2 separate regions of the Homo sapiens genome follow, and region 1 is linked to region 2. The links are contacts of gene promoters, found by promoter capture Hi-C in blood cells and fetal thymus (Javierre and others, 2016). All regions are on one chromosome and are shown on one strand. Each heading gives the region's core, a stretch centred on a gene start or on the middle of the fragment in contact. The rest is flanking DNA. Distances are from core to core; before and after follow the strand shown. Region 1 overlaps ZNF430 (zinc finger protein 430). Region 2 holds the start of LPAR2 (lysophosphatidic acid receptor 2).

Region 1 (6,637 bases), core at 3,997-6,496, 1.4 Mb before region 2:
TGAACAAGATCTGAAAAGCTTAAAGAACCACACTGTCAAAGGGGGCTTTAAGATGTCTATGTTGACAACTCACAATGGAGAAAATGCCTCCTGTTGGTTTTCTGTACATTCTCAACCTAAAGTCTGGCCGTGTCCTGTAAATCCCAGGAAGAGGCCAGACCTTATGTGCAGATTCTAGGTAGGATCAACCACACTCTGCATTCTTGGGTGTTACAGCAAGTGGAGTACAATCAAAGGAGAGATCCCCTCATAGAGGCTGCTCTAGCTCATTCTACGTGATATGACTACCTAAAAGGAAAAAGCTGAGGCAACATGAATATAAGAGTTTATTTGGGCCAAGCTTGAGAATAGTAACCTGGGAGCAAAGACACATTTTCCAGAGACTGAACAAATAAGAAACTGAATCCCTGAATAGACCAATAACAAGCTCCAAAATTGAATTAGTAAGAAATAGCCTACTAGCCAAAAAAAAGCAAAGAACCAGACAAATTCCTAGCTGAACTCTACCAGATGTACAAAAAAGAGCTAGTACCACTTCTACTAAAAATACTTCAAAATATTGAAAAGAAAGGACTCCTTTTCAACTCATTATATATAAGAATAGCATCATTCTGATATCAAAACCTGGCAGAGATTAAAAAAAAAAGAAAACTTCAAGCCAATATCCTTGATGAACATTGATGAAAATACCATCAACAAAATACTGGGAAACTGAATTCAGAAGAACATCAAAAAGCTAATCCACTATAATCAAGTAGGCTGCATCTCTGGGAGGCAAGTTGGTTCCATATACAATCAATAAATGTTATTCATCACATAAAGAGAACTAATAACAAATACCAAGATTATCTCAATAGATGCTAAAAATACTTTCAATATAATTTAACATTTTTCATGTTTAAAACCCTTAACAAACTAGGCATTGAAGGTATATACTTCAAAACAATGAGACATCAACGACAAACTTACAGCCAACACACTGAATGGACACAAGCTGGAAGCATTCCTCCTTGAAAACTGGCACAAGATAAGGATGCCTTCTCTCAAACATCCTATTCAACATAAAATTGGAAATCCTGGCCAGAGCAATCAGAGAAGAGATGAAAATAAAAGGCATCTGCCGGGCATGGGGGCTCACGCCTGTAATCCCAGCACTTTGGGAGGCTGAGGTGAGCAGATCACGAGGTCAAGAGATCGAGACCATCCTGGCCAACATGGTGAAACCCCGTCTCTCCTAAAAATACAAAACTTAGCTTGGCATGGTGGCATGTGCCTGTAGTCCCAGCTACTCAGGAGGCTGAGGCAGGAGAATCGCTTCAACCTGGGAGGCGGAGGTTGCAGTGAGCCGAGATCACACCACTGCACTCCAGCCTGGCGAGAGCAAGACTCTGTCTCAAAAAAAAAAAAAAAAAAAAAAAGAAAAGAAAAGAAAAAAGGCATCCAAACAGGAAGAAAGGAAGTCTAACTATCCCTGTGTGCAGATGACATGATTCTATATCTTCAAAACCCTATAGTCTCAGCAGGAAAGCTCTTTAAACTAATAAACAACTTTAGCAAAGTTTCAGGATACAAAATACACGTACAAAAATCAGTAGAATCTCTGTACATCAAAACATCCAAGCCAAAAGCCAAATCAAAAACATAATCCCATTCACAATTGCCACAAAAAGAATAGAATATCTAGGAATACAGCTAATCAGAATGGTGAAAGATCCCTATGACAAGAATCACAAAACACTGCTTAAAGAAGTCAGAGATTGGCCGGGCACGGTGGCTCACGCCTGTAACCCCAGCACTTTGGGAGGCTGGGGCAGGCAGATCACAAGGTCAGGAGTTTGAGACCAGCCTGATCAACATGGTGAAACTCCATCTCTACTAAAAATACAAAAACTGGCCAGGCGTGGTGGCGTGCGCCTATAATCCCAGCTACTCAGAAGGCTGAGACAGGAGAATAACTTGAACCTGGGAGGCGGAGGTTGCAGTGAGCTGAGATCGTGCCACTGAACTCCAGCCGGGGCAACACAGTGAGACTCCGTCTCAAGAAAAAAAAAAAAAAGTCAGAGATTACGGCCAGGCATGATGGCTCATGCCTGTAATCCCAGCACTTTGGGAGGCCGAGGCAGGTGGATCATGAGGTCAAGAGACGGAGACCATCCTGGTCAACATGGTGAAACCCCGTCTCTACTAAAAATACAAAAATTAGATCCAGGAGTGCATCCAGAGGAAACCATGCCATGGATCTGGGGCCCACATTACTATCTCATAAAAAGTGTGATGACCAGGTTTATGGATCACTCTGTTCTCAATGACAGAAACTTCAGTCTGTATTAAGAAGATATGGCTGCAGAAAGACAAGATGAATTGTGGAAAGAGTACAAAGAGGGGGAAAGTAGGAGGTTTCCCAGTTCCAATGGCTGACTAATGGGAGGAGGAGATGGAGAAAGCAGAGTAAACTGATTGGACTGAAAAAAAAAAAAAAAAAAGTACAAAAATTAGCCAGGCATGGTGGTAGGCGCCTGTAATCCCAGCTACTGGGGAGGCTGAGGCAGGAGAAATACTTGAACCTGGTAGGTGGAGGTTGCAGTGAGCCGAGATGATGCCGTTGCACTCCAGCCTGGGCAACAGAGTGAGACTCCGTCTCAGATAAAAAAAAAAGGAGAAATGTCAGAGGTGTATTGAATCAGGGCAAATCCATTTCGAATAGGGGCTGGGTAAAATGAGGCTGAGACCTATGGGGCTGCACTCCCAGATGGTTAGGCATTCTAAGTCACAGGATGAGACAAGAGTTCAGCACAAGATACAGGTTATAAAGATCTGGGTGATAAAACAGGTTGCAGTAAAGAAGGTGGATAAAACTCACCAAAACCAAGATGGGATGAGAGTGACCTTTGGTGGTCCTCACTGCTACACTCCCACCAGTGCCATGACAGTTTACAAAATGCCATGGAGACATCATGGAAACATCAGAAAATGACTTTATATTGTCTAATTGGGAGGCAAAAATAATCCACCCCTTGTTTAGCATATAATCAAGAAATAACCATAAAAATGGGCAACCAGCAGCCCTCAGGGCTGCTCTGCCTATAGAGTAAGCCATTCTTTTATTCCTTCTGTTTCCTAATAAACTTGCTTTTACTTTACTCTGTAGACTCACCCTGAATTCTTTCTTGAGCGAAATCCAAGAACCCTCTCTTGGGGTGTGGATTGTGACCCCTTTCCGATAAGAACTCTGCACATTTTCTTTTTCTCATTTAAAAAAATCAGCTGAATTTGTCTTCAGTGGTCTAAATAAAATTTTTCACAGGCTCCTGAACTTGGAGCTACCCTCAATCTGAGCCAATATACAACTCCATTTTATGTCCCTCCTAAGAACATGCTGACTTCAGGGTAAAACATTCTCTGATCTAAAATCTGATTATTTCACCCTTCATTTGTCAGTCACCTCCAACTTCTTTTTTTTTTTTTTAAGATGGAATCTGGCCCTGTCACCCAGGCTGGAGTGCAGTGGCGCGATCTAGGCTCACTGCCAGCTCCACCTCCTGGGTTTACGCCATTCTCCTGCCTCAGCCTCCCGAGTAGCTGGGACTACAGGCGCCCGTGACCACGCCCGGCTGATTTTTTTGTATTTTTAGTAGAGACGGGGTTTCACCATGTTAGCCAGGATGGTCTCCATCTCCTGACCTCATGATCCGCCTGCCTCGGCCTCCCAAAGTGCTGAGATTACAGGTGTGAGCCACAGCATCCGGCCGTCTCCAACTTCTAATTTTGTTTGCTCCTCCCCATGAAAGAAAGCCCTTTTCTGCCTAAACTTTGCAATCCTTAAGGTTCTTACAGTTGGTATTTCCTCCTGTTGCAATAGTCCTTTGGAATTCAAATTTTTAACATAAATCTAACTTTGTTAGGTATTACAAAGTCTAGAAACTGCCTTCAAACATTAACAACTTTATCATCAGTAAGACCCTCTCAATCTCCTACCATCTTAACCTTAACTGCATCTGCCTGTGGGTCCCCACCTTTCCAGGACTCTGTAGCTTCTCTCAGCAGAAAAGCTTCTTCCACAGCTAGAGTGAGCAGGCTAGGACATCTGCAGGGGAGGCTCCCCAGAAAAAAAACTAACTGGGCCTGTAATAAACTCCTTTTGCAGGCTCAATATTAGCCTTAGCTCTGAGTCACTGGGCTCAAGCTTTAATTTCTATGTTAGAGTTACTCACTTGGTTTTTGAAACTATGTGTTTGAAAAATCTAGCAAAATTAGTCACAGTGTTCATACAAGGGAAGGAAATTTTAAGGTGTTTGCAATTTATACCTCAATAAAAAAAGCAAAATATCTATTTCTTTCACATAATGTATGCATTATTTTATGAATTCCATTAAGAATCATTTAGTAAACAGTTAGTCATATGGGAAAACTTCTAGGTGGTACCAAGTTTCATCTCATAAAATTTAGCATGAAACTCAGAAATCAAGATAACAGGATTTGAACAGAGATGTTTACTGTCACAAATTTACCCTGCAGAGAGAGAAACTCATGTTTTCATGAATGTATGTAACTCACCAATTATCTACCACATTTTCTTGTAGAAATGTATTTATTTTCTACAAAAAAATGGAACAGAGATTTTCCCTACTCATTTCCTTGGTAGCATTCTAAAAGCTGAGCCTTAGAATTCTGTTTGAAATCACCCAGCCATAAAAAACACACCTGAGAAAATTCCTAAACTCACCCTGGGGGTAAAAAGGGAATAGAGAATTTTTAATGAATGGAATATATTATTAGATACTATTTTTTTTCTTAAACCCACCACTTTTATGCCTTTGGTAAATATTTTCCTACCTTTCAAGCCCTACTAATAGAATTTACAGCTAAAAAACTGAGGTTAAAATAAATGAACAAATCTTTTCAAGGTGACAAACCCAGGGAGTGGCAGTGCTGATGAAAAAACAGATGTGTCTGACTCATGTTTCAAGTCAGGCCATTCAATCACTTCAAACAGTCTTCCACCCACTCCTGCTCACTTATGTGCTCAAGAACCACCCACTCAGGAGATACCACACTATGCCCCAGTGACTGTCCCACGGGCATTTAACTTTGCAAGTTCTTACGCCATCTCACTGGGGTCAGTGTTTTTCTTTTTCTTTTTGTCTTTTGGGATACTATTTTTTCTGTCACAAATGTTCCACTTTTTTCCACTATTTTACTTTCACTATAGTTATTTCACTATTTTTCTGCCCCCTTAGACAATCCAGAGGCAAAAATTATTTGTTTTCCCCTCAATGCCACAGTCTGATTGGTTGACCAGCAATGTGTCTCCAAGAAATGAAAGCTGGGTTGGGTGAAGACAATTTTAACATCTCAAGGGGTTACCTTTTCATAAAAAGAGTACACCAGAAGATTCCTGTCAGCCCCAGGGCATCCACTTGCTTCCTTGAGAGGATACACTCCAGACTTCAGGTTCTCCTATGGGAGAAAATAACCCAGAAGCTGATATCCACTAGACACTCTAACTGACATAACCATGGCGGATATCTTGGTTTATCCCCAGACAATACTGAAACCCAGGACCAGAAAAAAACTGAAGGGTGACTGAGGACACAACACCCCATAAAGTTTCCAAAGGAAAACCCTGACCCAAAAACATCCTGAGACAAGATCTCTGTGCCCAGAGAAGATACAAGGAGAAGAAGCACAGAGAGTTTTTACAACACAGTGTCAGGGGATTATTCTTTGCTTTCTTCACATGGGAAATATTTACAAACAGATAACAAATCTTATTAAAAGCACCATTTAATACTTTGTCAGAAAATAACTAATTAAAATACGGTGTAAAAAATGTACACTAAAGGACAAATAGGTGATAATGTGAATTAGGTAGGAAAAGTTGGCATTTGGGAACGCCAGAAAGAACTGGAAATTTAGTATCTTACTGCAAGCCAGAGTGAGGCTGGAGAAATGGGGGACGGGGGTTAGACTTAAGACCCTGCTTGGGACACAGGTGAAAAATGCAGCAGAAAATCAGTTCCCCGTGGAGTGTGAAAATAATTGAGTGGCAGGCAATTAGACTGAGGTGTCTCTAGACCCTGGGTTCCTACTTTTAAAAAGATCTAACGTGGCTGGGCGTGATAGCTCACGCCTGTAATCCCAGCATTTTGGGAGGCCAAGGCAGGCGGATCACCTGAGGTCAAGAGTTCGAGGCCAGCCAGGCCAACATGGTGAAACCCCGTCTCTACTAAAAGTACAAAAATTAGCTGGGCAGGGTGGCAGGCGCTTGTAATTCCAGCTACTCAAAAGGCTGAGGCAGGAGAAGCTTGAACACAGGCAGCGGCAGAAGTTGTAGTGAGCCGAGATTGTGCCACTGCACTCCAGCCTGGGCGACAAGAGCGAGACTCCATCTCAAAAAAAAAAAAAAAAAAAAAAAAAAAAAATCTAACTCAGGCGCATCGTTTTGAAAATTACTACATTGAAAGACACAAAATTCAGGCTTAATCAACTGTATACTGCCAATTAAGGTCTGATTACACAACCAGAAAATTTTCACCTTTATTGTACAAACTAAGAAACTACATAACGGTACCTAACCAATTACTGAATTTGGCTTTCTTCATCATGCACCTTATAAAAGTCTTTCCTTCAAGCCCCG
Region 2 (6,247 bases), core at 2,976-5,475:
CTAATGCCTCAGAGACAAGGTTTCGCCATGTTAGCCAGGCTGGTCTCCAACCCCCTACCTCAAGTAACCCACCCACCTCAGCCTCCCAAAGTGCTGGGATTATAGGCGTGAGCCACCACACCCGGCCGCAGTTGGAATCCTTTATTTTTTTAGACGGAGTTTCATTCTTGTTGCCCAGGTTGGAGTGCGATGGCGTGATCTCTGTTCACCGTAACCTCCACCTCCTGGATTCAAGCGATTCTCCTGCCTCAGCCTCCAGAGTAGTTGGGATTACAGGCATGCACCACCACACCCAGCTAATTTTTTTTGTATTTTTAGTAGAGTAGGGGTTTCTCCATGTTGGTCAGGCTGGTCTCAAACTCCTGACCTCAGGCGATCCGCCCTCCTCAGCCTCCCAAAGTGCTGGGATTACAGGCATGAGCCACTGCACCCGGCCTAGAATCTTTTTTTTTTTTTTGAGATGGAGTCTCGCTCTGTCACCCAGGCTAGAGTGCAGTGGTGCCATCTTGGCTCACTGCAAGCTCTGCCTCCCAGGTTCACGTCATTCTCCTGCCTCAGCCTCCCAAGTAGCTGGGACTACAGGCACCCGCCACCACACCCGGCTAATTTTTTTGTATTTTTAGTAGAGACGGGGTTTCACCGTGTTAGCCAGGATGGTCTCGATCTCCTGACCTTGTGATCCACCCGCCTCGGCCTCCCAAAGTGCTGGGATTACAGGCTGGAGCCACTGCACCCGGCCGCCTGGCGTAGAATCTTTAACAAAGGTCACCAGTCTGGATCCAGAGCTCAGCTGTGAACCAGGAAGATAGCAGCACCCGCTGCTCCGGATTGCTAGAACAGTCCATGCCCAAGGCCTGTGCTGCTGGTATCTTGCTGCATCTGCCATTCCTGAGAGCAAGGATCTCTCCTGCAGCAGCCCAGAGCTGGGAAGCGGCTGCTGGTGAACTGTGGGTCTCTGAGAGCTGGAATGCCTCATAAAGTGCTCGGGACAGTGTCTGATGTGTAGACACTGCCAACCATTTAGCTAAGGATGGAACAGTAAAGTTGGTAAGGTTGCAGAGAGCAGCCCAGGATAGTAGTTCAGAGGCACCACCTGGTCCTAATGTGGAGAGGGCTGAGCCACTCCCTGGGCTGGCCATTTGCTAAACAAGGATTTTCCCACCCTCATGGAGCCCACGGTCCAGACTCAATGAATGACACTGCTCTATGCTGGAAGGGCAAGCAGTACACTTATTATTATTTTTGAGACGGAGTCTCATTCTGTCACCCAGACTGGAGTGCAGGGGCATGATCTGAGCTCACTGCAATCTCCACCTCCCAGGTCCAAGCGATTCTCCTGCCTCAGCCTCCCTAGTAGCTGGGATTACAGGCATGCACCACCACGCCCGGCTAAATTTTGTATTTCTAGTAGAGACGGAGTTTCACCATGTTGGCCAGGCTGGTCCCGAACTCCTGACCTCAGATAATCCACCAACCTCAGCCTCCCAAAGTGCTGGGATTACAGGCATGCACCACCATGCCTGGCCAAGCAGTACACTTATAAGGGCATCGTCTATCCCCAAACACCAAAACTGCAAAGGATGACAGGTGCACAGTCAGTGGTGGTCCATGCCCTGTGCATAGGAGGAGTTCAATGGTAGTCCACACCCAGTGCAGAGTAGGTGCAAAGTCAGGGGTGGCTGGCAGAGCCACCTGGGCCCACTCCTCTTTGGTCTCACTTCCTACCACCTTTCCCTCATTCATTACAGGGTGGGGCTGCGTCCTAACATACCAGGCATGCTCCTACCTCAGGGCCTTTGCACTGGCTATTCCTTTTGCATGTCCAGGAACAAGCCCTTGGCTCTCCAGGAATCTCAAAGAACTGGGATTTTAGTGTTGGGGTCTCATTCTTGGGTTTCTCCCTGCAGATTCCAACTCCACAGAGTGACCAGAGAGAGGACGTGGCTGAAGACACCAAAGATGGGGGAGGGGAAGGTGAGTATGTTAGAGAGAGGCTCAGGAGTTCTGGGGGTGCCCTGGCCCCAGGGTGGCTTGCTAAAAGATGACTCCTGGGGGGATATACAGAGAACTTGGAGGTGCTCTGCACTGACCACCCACCCCGTACACAGTGTCCAGCCAAGGCCCAGAGGACTCACTCCTGGGGACACAGTCTCGTGGCCACTTCAGCCGCCAGCCAGTGAAGTATCCCCGGGGCGGTGTGAGGCCTGTAACCCACCAGCTGTCCAGTCTGGCCCTGGTGGCTTCCAAGCTGTGCGAGGAGACCCCCATCACATCAGTGCCCAGAGGGAGTTTGCGGGGGCGGGGGCCCAGCCCTGCAGCTGCCTCCCCTGAGGGCAGCCCCCTGCGCCGCACCCCGCTGCCCAAGCATTTTGAGATTACCCAGGAGACAGCCCGGCTACTCTCGAAATTGGACAGCGAGGCTGTGCCCAGGGCCACCTGCTGCCCGGACGTCCAGCCTGAGGAAGCCGAGGACCATCTCTGACCACCCTGGCACCTTAAATAAGGAAGAGGCCCAGATTGTGAAGACGGACCCATATATCCCTACCTCCCACCACCTAGTGGCCAAACACCCCGCCAGGAGTTCAATGCTGGGAGAGGTCCAGAGGGTTCCTATAAGGAAAAACTATTTAATACATGACCTAGGGGAGGCCTAAAACCCTTTTGGGGATAATGTCCCAGAGTCCCCCCACTAGACACAGGTCACTGCCAAGCATCAGGGCCACTCGGGCTCAGAGGTCACTCAGGGTCAATACTCAGGGTCAGTGCAGGTTATGAGATCCTTGGGGTCCACCCTAGTCTCTGACACCTGGGACAGGGGTGCTTTTGCTACTTTGGTTGTGGTCACTCCCCCACACCTGCCTGCCTCCTTCACGGACTCGAAGTGACCTTCCTGGAGGAGGTGGGCAGCTCAGACTCCACATGCTGGTGGTGCCTGAGGTCTGATGGCCTCTAATAAACTGTGTCCTATATGCCCTTGGGTGCATCTCTGCTAGGGGAGAGGCCAGCATGGGTAGCACTCCTTGCCCCCATTTTACAGATTAGGGGAATCAAGGCCTCTTTTTTTTTTTTTTTTTTTTTTTTTTTTGAGACGGAGTTTTGCTCTGTCTCCAGGTTGGAGTGCAGTGGCACGATCTCCGCTCACTGCAACCTCCACCTCCCGGGTTCAAGCGATTCTCCTGCCTCAGCCTCCCGAGTAGCTGGGACTACAGGCGCCTGCCACCATGCCCGGCTAATTTTTTTGTATTTTTAGTAGAGACGGGGTTTCAGCATGTTGGCCAGGATGGTCTCGATCTCCTGATCTCGTGATCGTCCCGCATCGGCCTCCCAAAATGCAGGGATTACAGGCGTGAGCCACTGCGCCCGGCCTCAAGGCCTCCTTCTTGCATCATCAAACACCCTGCAGCACCTACGTAAAGGCAGTTGGAGCTGGGTCGCAGCACCCGGCTGAGTCACGCCAGCCCGGCCCTCCCGGAGCTCTGCGTCCCCGATCCGGTCCTGCATAATCAAATACAGTATAACAAAGTACCGATAACCGGGACAATGGGGCTGTGTGCTCCGGACCGTGGGAGCCCGGGGCCGCCGCAGGGAGGCCGAGGGAGGAAGCCACAGGGCAGGGCAGGGCAGGGCCGGGCTTTGCAGGGGGCAGCGCTGTCCCAGGGTGAGGGGTACGGGGGCGGGATTGCAAAACCCTAGCGTGCGCCCGATGATCAGCTGGGGCCGCAGAGGTGGGCCTCGCACAGGAGGCCGCGGCTCGCTGATACTGCGAGCTGGCAAAGCCGAAGCTGGGCGGGGGTCCGGGCGGTGGGAGCCAAGTCGGATCAGGGAGTGGCTTGTAACTCGGCGGCCGATTGGACACGAAGAAGAGAGCGGGGTGGGGCTGGGAGGGTTGGGGGTCCGGAGCGGGGGCGCGGACCCAAGACCACCTGGAGCTCCGCCCGGGCAGCGCGGGGTCACGGCGGGAATTTTCGGGTCGCCGAGTGACTCAGCCCCGCAGGCTCGAAACTGCGGGCGCATGAGGTGTGCAGGTACCGGGGTGGGGGTCCCGCGCCGGAAATAGGGGCGACTGAGGGGCCGCGAGGCGGGGAGGAAACAGGGGGGCTGCGGTTCCGGGCGACACCGCCCCCGACGCGGCCGTGGAGGCGGGGCTCCCCCAGGTGGCGGGGCGGGGCAGGGCTCCCCCAGGTGGTGGGGGCGGGGCGCCGGGGAGACCCCGCCTCCCGCGCCCTCTCAGCAACCCGCACAGGGCGCACCCGGACGCTCTACCGCTCCCGCCGCAGTCGCCGGGCCATGGGCCTCGAGCCCGCCCCGAACCCCCGCGAGCCCGCCTTGTCTGCGGCGTGACTGGAGGCCCAGGTGAGGCCTGCACGGACGGGAGGCGGGCGGGTGCGGGCCTGGGCCCGGGGGAAGGGCGCGGCACGTGCCTGCGGGGCCAGGACGCCGCCCTCTGATCCCTTAACCCCCTACCCCTTCCCCAGTCTGGAGACGCCTGGAGGCCCGGCCATCCATCCCTTCCCCAACCGCTGTCTTTGTCCCGGAGACCGCCAGTGTCCTCCGTCCCACCCGGAACAGCCTATTGCCCCGCCCGCTTGGGAAGCACTCGCGCCCAAATCCCGCCGACTAACTTCTGGGGCCGCCTCTCTGTCCACTCCGATCACCTCCACGCCTCGGCACCGCCCCCTCGCAGGGTTCTAGCAAGTGACCTCACCCTTGTGTGCACACGCTCCCGGGTCTCTGCTCCCTACACTGACTCCGGCACCAAAGTGATCCTCCCTCATCTCTTCCCGCAGCTCACACCCCTTTGTCTTTCCCTAACCCTCCTCTCCCCACAACCCAAACCGGGTCACACATTGGCGGCAGGTGGGCTGGGATTCGACCATAGATGGGTTTTGTTTCACTTCTGGTTCAAAAACCTATTGACTTGGGTGATGTCTTGCACACAGGTCTTATTAGTAGGTAAGAAACAGCTGCTCCTCCACCTCCACCCCAGCCCCATGGAGCTTGCTTTTTCCAGGCCACCGTAGTCCTCACCACTGCCACTTTGCTTCGAGGTATCTGAATTTGAGACCCTTGTCCTTCCTGCGCTGACCCTCCTCTGCAGCTGCCGCCCCTCCCTGTGTCCTTCCAAGAAGTGCCACATGCACTGATCTCTTGTGTCCCCAGATGGTCATCATGGGCCAGTGCTACTACAACGAGACCATCGGCTTCTTCTATAACAACAGTGGCAAAGAGCTCAGCTCCCACTGGCGGCCCAAGGATGTGGTCGTGGTGGCACTGGGGCTGACCGTCAGCGTGCTGGTGCTGCTGACCAATCTGCTGGTCATAGCAGCCATCGCCTCCAACCGCCGCTTCCACCAGCCCATCTACTACCTGCTCGGCAATCTGGCCGCGGCTGACCTCTTCGCGGGCGTGGCCTACCTCTTCCTCATGTTCCACACTGGTCCCCGCACAGCCCGACTTTCACTTGAGGGCTGGTTCCTGCGGCAGGGCTTGCTGGACACAAGCCTCACTGCGTCGGTGGCCACACTGCTGGCCATCGCCGTGGAGCGGCACCGCAGTGTGATGGCCGTGCAGCTGCACAGCCGCCTGCCCCGTGGCCGCGTGGTCATGCTCATTGTGGGCGTGTGGGTGGCTGCCCTGGGCCTGGGGCTGCTGCCTGCCCACTCCTGGCACTGCCTCTGTGCCCTGGACCGCTGCTCACGCATGGCACCCCTGCTCAGCCGCTCCTATTTGGCCGTCTGGGCTCTGTCGAGCCTGCTTGTCTTCCTGCTCATGGTGGCTGTGTACACCCGCATTTTCTTCTACGTGCGGCGGCGAGTGCAGCGCATGGCAGAGCATGTCAGCTGCCACCCCCGCTACCGAGAGACCACGCTCAGCCTGGTCAAGACTGTTGTCATCATCCTGGGTAAGTGGGGCCCCCAGGGGGCAACAGGGACCCTGCTTCCCCCTATCTCCCACAAGACACTGCGAAGCAATGAACAAAACAAGCTACCTGATAGAGGGTGATGGGGGATGATTTAGGTGGGGAATGTCCTCCAAGGAGGTGATAATGTATGTGAGCAGAGGCCTGAATGCTGAGGATAGGAACAGAGAGCCTTCCAGGCAGAGGAAACGGAAAGTAAAAACCTCAAGGCAGTACGAGGCCAGAGCCTCTAAAGAGGAAAGTGGGCTTGTGAGGAGGAGAGATCAGCAAGGCCTTAAGGGGCACGGACAGGAGTCTTATTTTGAGTTTCATGGGAACCCCTTAAGA

Evidence for each region. The method cuts DNA at HindIII sites, captures the fragments that hold promoters and counts their contacts. A CHiCAGO score of 5 or more calls a contact.
Region 1: a contact is called between a fragment that was not itself captured here and the fragment with the promoter of LPAR2 in region 2, in 1 of 17 cell types (neutrophils). The highest score is 6.1, in neutrophils.

Annotation. Positions count from the first base shown.
Region 1 is chr19:21,021,609-21,028,245 of GRCh38, reverse strand. ZNF430 (zinc finger protein 430) reads right to left here. Exons shown (of 5, transcript NM_025189.4): 2 at 5,365-5,457. Among named protein-coding and RNA genes, the nearest start is that of ZNF430, 4.3 kb to the right of the region's middle. RefSeq lists an enhancer at 3,568-4,068. The HindIII fragment of the contact is 2,121 bases long and covers 4,186-6,306 here.
Region 2 is chr19:19,626,198-19,632,444 of GRCh38, reverse strand. It overlaps LPAR2 (lysophosphatidic acid receptor 2), which reads left to right and starts at 4,225. Exons shown (of 3, transcript NM_001395660.1): 1 at 4,225-4,353; 2 at 5,161-5,902. The coding sequence starts at 5,170. GMIP (GEM interacting protein) reads left to right here. Exons shown (of 21, transcript NM_016573.4): 20 at 1,908-1,974; 21 at 2,109-2,969. The coding sequence ends at 2,482. RefSeq lists silencers at 3,475-3,604, 3,975-4,474 and an enhancer at 2,915-3,837. The HindIII fragment of the contact is 41,803 bases long and covers 1-6,247 here.